Linked DNA regions of Homo sapiens: region 1 is linked to region 2. The links are contacts of gene promoters, found by promoter capture Hi-C in blood cells and fetal thymus (Javierre and others, 2016). All regions are on one chromosome and are shown on one strand. The core of a region is centred on a gene start or on the middle of the fragment in contact, and the rest is flanking DNA. Distances in the headings are between cores, read along the strand shown.

What was found. The method cuts DNA at HindIII sites, captures the fragments that hold promoters and counts their contacts. A CHiCAGO score of 5 or more calls a contact.
Region 1: a fragment that was not itself captured here is called in contact with the fragment with the promoter of MRTFA-AS1 in region 2 in 1 of 17 cell types (megakaryocytes); the score reaches 6.1 in megakaryocytes.

What each region holds. Positions count from the first base shown.
Region 1 is chr22:40,683,074-40,686,535 of GRCh38, reverse strand. It overlaps LOC124905123 (a long non-coding RNA gene), which reads left to right and starts at 1,606. Exons shown (of 3, transcript XR_007068110.1): 1 at 1,606-1,793. RefSeq lists enhancers at 1,448-2,143, 2,144-2,839 and silencers at 3,117-3,411, 3,137-3,431. The HindIII fragment of the contact is 8,253 bases long and covers 1-3,462 here.
Region 2 is chr22:40,520,003-40,523,512 of GRCh38, reverse strand. MRTFA-AS1 (MRTFA antisense RNA 1) reads right to left here and starts at 1,713. Exons shown (of 4, transcript NR_109965.1): 1 at 540-1,713; 2 at 73-147. All of the region lies in intron 3 of MRTFA (myocardin related transcription factor A), which reads left to right. The HindIII fragment of the contact is 4,880 bases long and covers 1-3,510 here.

The DNA of each region.
Region 1 (3,462 bases), core at 936-3,435, 160 kb before region 2:
ATTTCAGTTTGGGAAGATGGAAAAGTTCTGGAGATAGATGGTGGTGAGAGCTGCGCATTAACGTGAATGTATTTCATGCCACTGAATTGTACACTTGAAATTGTTAAAATAGTAAATTTTATGTTAGGTGTATTTTACCACAATAAAAAAGAGGCCGGGCGTGGTGGCTCTTGCCTGTAATCCCACACTTTGGAAGGCCAAGGTGGGCAGATCACCTGAGGTCAGGAGTTCAAGACCAGCCTGGTCAACAGTGTGAAACCCTGTCTCTACCAAAACTACAAAAATTAGCCAGGCGTAGTGGCGCATGCCTGTGATCCCAGCTACTCAGAAGGCTGAGGCAGGAGAATTGCTTGAACCCTGGAGGCAGAGATTGCAGTGAGCTGAGATTGCACCACTGCACTCCAGCCTGGGCATCAGAGCGAGACTCTGTCTCAAAAATAAATAAAAATAAATAAATAAATAAATAAATAAATATGTATATTAGGCCAGGTACAGTGGGTCACACCTGTAATCCCAGCCCTTTGGGACTCTGAGGTGGGCAGATTGCTTGAGCTCAGGAGTTCAAGACCAGCCTGGGCAACATGGTGGAACCCCGTCTCCACCAAAACAAAACAAAAAATAGCTGGGCATAGTGACATGCACCTGTAGTCCCAGCTACTTGGAAGGCTGAAGTTGGGGGAGGATTGCTTGAGTCCAGGAGGTCGAGGCTGCAGTGAGCTGAGATCACACCGCTGTACTCCAGCCTGGGCAACAGAGCCAGATCTTGTCTCAAAATAAATAGATAAATAAAAATAAGTTAATTAATTAAATGAAAACTGATGATTCAGAAAGGAACAAGCAAACACAAACCCAATGCCAGTTGCCGTGTTTGGTGCTCTTCTTGCTTCTCTTGTGAACAGCAATGTGCGGAAGTGGTTCTGTGGACTCACTTGCAACCTAAACTTTGAGGTCAATGTCTCTCAGCTGTGAAAGTCTACCAGGTGCTGGGGGGTAGTTTCGGAGCATAATCCTCACAGTTGGGGAAGAAGTATTTTCTGGGGAGAAGATAAGGCAGCAGTGGATGAAGCACTGGCCAGGTTTGAGGAGATGACTTGATGGGGCCCCCATGGGAGAAACTAATTGTTAAATGTGGGAAGAGGGAAAGGAGCAAAGAGATGGACCGCAGGGTCTTCACCCGCTTCTTGGACTCTGTCTGCAGCTCACAGTGGCCTCCACAGCTCCCCAAGGTTCTGGCCACATCCCCAGGCTTAAGGAAGAGGAAAAGAAAGTTCCCCTCGTGCCTCAGACCCCAGCTCTGCACTTGGTCCACCATCCCCACCAGCGATGTCAGGAAAATGCCTCGCCAGCAACCCAGCGCTCACCTCTGCCTGTGCTTCCCCTCATCCACATCGCAAGTGTGTCCCGGTTACCGCGGAATCAGGCTGGGGAGAGATGTGGTGGTGGCAGCTCCCATCGTAATCCCCCACCCTTTAAGCCTCCCTGCCCCACTTCTCCCCTCGACCACCTGTTCTCCCTAACTCATCTCTCCCCTCCGCCTCTCCCCTCCGGAAGGTTTACATTGCTACCCACCCACTTTCATGACTCCACCCACTCTGCTTCCATTTCAGTTGTTTCAGTGTGGGGTTAAGAGCTGAAGGACAGGATGCCCCCTTCCCCAGGAGCTGCTGGGGCTTTCGCTGGGCGTGTGCCTACCCACCCACCCACTGTGAGCTGTTGACTTGGTGATGTGCATTCCCTGGGAGAGGCCGTCTCACTTGTTTCCTCTCTGGGATTCCTCCTTGGAGTGCTGGAAGGTGAGAGGGAGTGAGGAGCAGGCAGGGGCTGGGGCTGATGGACACCCAGGGAAGCCTTCCAGTAGACAAACCCGATGCAGGAAGACCTCCTTTTATCACGTTTGTGGCTAGGAATTGGGTCTTTTTGGATTTGCCTCAAGGCTTCCCTAAGAATCCTTTTTTCTTTTTCTTTCTTTTTTTCTTTTTTTTTAAATGGAGTTTTCGCTCTTGTTGCCCAGGCTGGAGGGCAATGGTGCAATCTCGGCTCACTGCAACCTCTGCCTCCTGGGTTCAAGTGGTTCTCCTGTCTCAGCCTCCCAAGTAGCTGGGACTACAAGCACGTGCCACCATGCCTGGCTAATTTTTGTATTTTTAGTACAGATGAGGTTTCACCATGTTGGCCAGGCTGGTCTCGAACTCCTGACCTCAGGTGATCCACCTGCCTCGGCCTCCCAAAGTGCTGGGATTACAGGTGTGAGCCGTCGCGCCTGGCCAGAATCTTCTTTTATTGAGTGTGCGTCTAAAATAGATTTCAAGTTACGGGTGGCAGCTGGAGACCCTACTGTTAGTGAGTAAGGAAAATAACCATCAGCTTCTTTACTCCCCAGGTGCTGGGTGGAGGGGAACACAGGCCAGGAAATACTAATGATTGTGATAAAGAGCTCCCCAGGGGCCGGATGTGGTGGCTCAAGCCTGTAATCCCAGCATTCCACGAGGCCAAGGTGGGAGGATTGTTTGGGCCCAGGAGTTTGAGACCAGCCTGGGCAACATGGCAAGATCCTGTCTCTACAAAATATAAAAAATTAGCCAGGCATGATGGTGTGCGCCTGTGGTCCCAGCTACTTGGGAGGCTGAGGTGGGAGGATTGCTTGAATCTGGGAGGTCGAGGCTGCAGTGAGCTGTGATCATGTCACCTGCACTACAGCCTGGGCAACAGGGCAAGGCCCTGTGTCCAAAAAAAAAAAAAAAAAAAAAAGCCGGGCACGGTGGCTTACGCCTGCAGTCTCAGCACCTTGGGAGGCCGAGGCAGGCAGATCATGAGGTTAGGAGATCGAGACCATCCTGGCTAACATGGTGAAACCCCGTCTTTACTAAAAATACAAAAATTAGCCGGGCGTGGTGGCGGATGCCTGCAGTCCCAGCTACTCGGGAGGCTGAGGCAGGAGAATGGTGTGAACCCGGGAGGCGGAGCTTGCAGTGAGCAGAGATCACACCACTGCACTTCAGCCTGGGCGACAGAGCGATACTCTGTCTCAAAAAAAAAGTCCCCAGGACCCAAGGAAGCTGCCCAGAAGTTTTCTGAAGAGGCTCCCTGCTGCAGCTCTGAAGAGGAACAGGCTGTGCTGCTGCCCCTGCTTTCAGGATGCTTGCAGCTTTCTCCCGCTCTCTCAGTAAGGTCTGCTGAGCACTGCACTGACGGCTCCCAGTCCCCTCTCAGTGAAGACACCAAGAAGCAGCAGCCAAGCAGCAGTCGTGGCTGCCTCCCAGTGGCCCCGGCTGTAATCTTCTGTTCAAGGTGCCCACACCAGATCTCAGCTGTAGAAAGCAGAGAGGCTTCAGCTGCCCTAAGAGCTGGCTCTGCGGCTGGTGACTCAGCGGGGGTGAGGGTTGAGGCGGGGGAGTGGGGGTTGGGACTTGGGGCCTGAGGACTCATCACTGATGACAACAAAGCCCAGGGGATTTTGTGCAG
Region 2 (3,510 bases), core at 464-2,963:
CAAAAATTAGGCAGGCATGGTGATACACACCTGTAGTCCCAGATACTTAGGGGGCTGAAGTGGGAGGCTCACTTGAATTTGGGAGGTCAAGGCTGCAGTGAACCGTGTTTGCACCACGGTATTCCAGCTGGGCCACAAAGTGAGACCCTATCTCAAAAAAAAGATTGTCACATGCATATTAAAGTTGAGAAGTTCAGTTCCAAAAGATATTTTATTTTTATTTCCCAAGATGCTATGAGATGTGTTGGATTTATATGTGGGATTTATATGATGTCTAATTAGTATGGAAGAATAGGGTAAAACAGGAAACAAAAAAGAAAACCTGCTCCTGGTATAGTTCTCTGTGTTAGATAAACGTTCACAATTTGACAACTTTTTTTTTTTTTTGCCATTTTTCTTCATTTTTCAAAGAAAGAACAAATAGGCTTATTTTTGGCATTCTAGAATGTTTAACTGGGAAGGATCTTAGACATGACCTGATAACAAACCTTGGTTTTACAGGTGAACAGACGGGGGGCTAAGAATGTTAAGTGACTTACCCAAGATCATATAGCGTGGACTCCCTGTGACCTGATTTTCAAACTACTGATCTTTGGAACTCCTGTGCTACCCCTCTGTGTTGCTGAAGGCCATCTATTCTTAGTTGGTTCTATTGATGTTGGTTGAAACCATCCCGAACATACCTGTGGCTAGGCACAGTGGCTCACGTCTGTAATCCCAGCACTTTGGGAGGTTGAGGGGGGCGGATCACTTCAGGTCAGGAGTTGGAGTCCAGCCTGGCCAACATGATGAAACCCCATCTCTGCTAAAAATACAAAAATTAGCAAGGCATGGTGGTGCACACCTGTGACTCTAGCTACTCGGGAGGCGGAGGCAGGAGAATTGCTTGAACCCTGGAGGCAGAGGTTGCAGTGAATTGAGACCACACCACTGCACTCCAGCCTGGGTGACAGAGTGAGACCCTGCCTCAAAACAAAACAAAACAACCATCCTGCACAATTATGAGTGAGAGTAAATCCAACACATCTCACAGCATCTTGGGAAAATGATAAGGCTCACTTTCTTCTTTCCCTTCAGTGTGAACTCATGTAATAACTTCAGAGAAAGGCATTTCCCTGCTGTCTGGAAGTTGAACTCCTTCTACAAACTGGTGGAGCTTGCTGCCCAGTCCTGTGCCCTCCGAGCTGAGGGGAAGGCGTGGGGATTTTCTGTTCTACTGAAATGGCAGGATTATGTCATAGCAGTGGTTTTGAGTGTTTAGAGGTAGTGTTATTTTAATTATTTTTCTAACTCTGGTTTAAATAAAAACTTACAAATCAGGAAAGAACTGGCTATCTGTATGTTAAAAAAATTAAGAGAGGGCTGGGTGCAGTGTCTCACGCCTGTAATCCCAACACTTTGGGAGGCCGAGGTGGGTGGATCACGAAGTCAGGAGATCGAGACCATCCTGGCCAACCAACATGGTGAAACCCCGTCTCTACTAAAAATACAAAAATTAGCTGGGCGTGGTGGCGTGCGCCTGTAATCCCAGCTACGCAGGAGGCTGAGGCAGGAGAATCGCTTGAACCTGGGAGGCGGAGGTTGCAGTGAACCGAGATTGTGCCAGTGCACTCCAGCCTGGCCAACAGAACAAGACTCCGTCTTAAAAAAAAAAAAAGGAGAGAGAGAGAGGGAACATTGACTCTTACCTTGTACCATCCCAAAAATTCATTTGAGGCCGGGTGTGGTGGCTCATGCCTGTAATCCCAGCCCTTTGTGAGGTCAAGGTGGGTGGATCGCTTGCGATCAGGAGTTGGAGACCAGCCTGGCCAACATGGTAAAACCCTATCTATACTAAAATACAAAAATTGGCCAGGCGTGGTAGCGGGCACACATAGTCCCAGCTACTTGGGAAGCTGAGGCAGGAGAATTGCTTGAACCCAGGAGGCAGAGGTTGCAGTGAGCCAAGATTGCACCCCTGCATTCCAGCCTGGGTGACAGAGTGAGACTCTGTCTCATAATTAATTAATTAATTAATTAATTCAGGCTGTGGGATACTGCTCAGCAACTTTTAAAAAGGGGCAAACTTTAAACGTTTTAGAAATAAAACACCCTGAATGACTCTTGAGAATTACTCTGAGTGAAAAAAGCCAATCCTAAAATGTTACCTATTGTATGATTCTATTTATATAACATTCTTGAAATGACAAAATTATAGATATGAAGCACAGATTGGTTCTTCATATTGTCAGGGCCTGTGGATGGTGTGGGGCTGAAAGTAGATGTGGCTATAAAAGGTCAACATGAGGGATCCTCAGGGTGATGGAAATGTGTATGTTGACTAACAGTGCCAGTATTCTGGTTGTAATATTGTACTGTAGTTTTGCAAGATGTTATCATTGGAGGGAACTGAGTAAAGGATACATGAGCTCTTTGTATTATTTATTATGTGAATCTATAATTATCTCAGAATGAAAAGTTTATACATGAGCTGTTTATTATTTCTTATTATGTGAATCTATAATTATCTCAGAATGAAAAGTTTAAAAACTACAATTTGGCAGCTTTTCAAAAAGTTAAACATAGATCCTGTGACCTAGCAATTCTACTTCTAGATATATATCCTAGAAAACTGAAAACATTTGTCTGTGTATTTTTACACAGACAAATGTTCATAGCAGCTTTTTCAAAATAGCTAAAAAGTGGAAACAACCCACATGTCTTTCAGTTGATGAATAAACAAAATATGGTATATCCATACAATGGAATATTATTCACTCATAAAAAGAAATCACTGTTGATATATGTTATAAAATGAATGAACCTTGGCCTTGTGTGGTGGCTTATGCCTATAATCCCAGTACTTTGGGAGGCCAAGGCAGGTGGATCGCTTGAGCCCAGGAGTTTGAGACCAGCCTGGGCAACATGGCGAAACCTATGTCTACTAAAAATACAGAAAAATTAGCCAGGCTGGTGGCATGTGCCTATAGTCTCAGCTACTCGGGAGGCTGAGGCACAACAGTCGCTTGAACCTGGGAGATGGAGGTTGCAGTGAACGGGGATCAAGCCACTTGCACTCTAGCCTGGGTGACAGAACGAGACTCGTCTTAAAAAAAAAAATGATGAACCTTAAAAACATTTTCCAAATGAAAGGACATAGACATAAAAGGCCACATATTGTGTGATTCCATTTAAATGAAATGTCCAGAACAGGAAATGGAGAGTGACTGCTGATGGATACAGGGTTTATTTTTGGGGCAATGAAAATGTTCTGGAATTAGTTGCGATAAACTATGGAATTATGCACTTTGAATGGTTGAATTTTATAGTATGTGAATTGTATCTCAATTTTTTAAATTGTGTGAGGAAAAAAATTCAGGTTTCTCTAGAGTGACAGCAGATCAGTGATTGCCTGGGGCTGGAAGTGGAAGGAGAAATTGAATACAAAGGGACACAAGAAAACCCTAGGGATGAAAATATATCTCTTTATTGTCGTGGTTATACAGGCATATGCAATTGTCAGAACGCTTT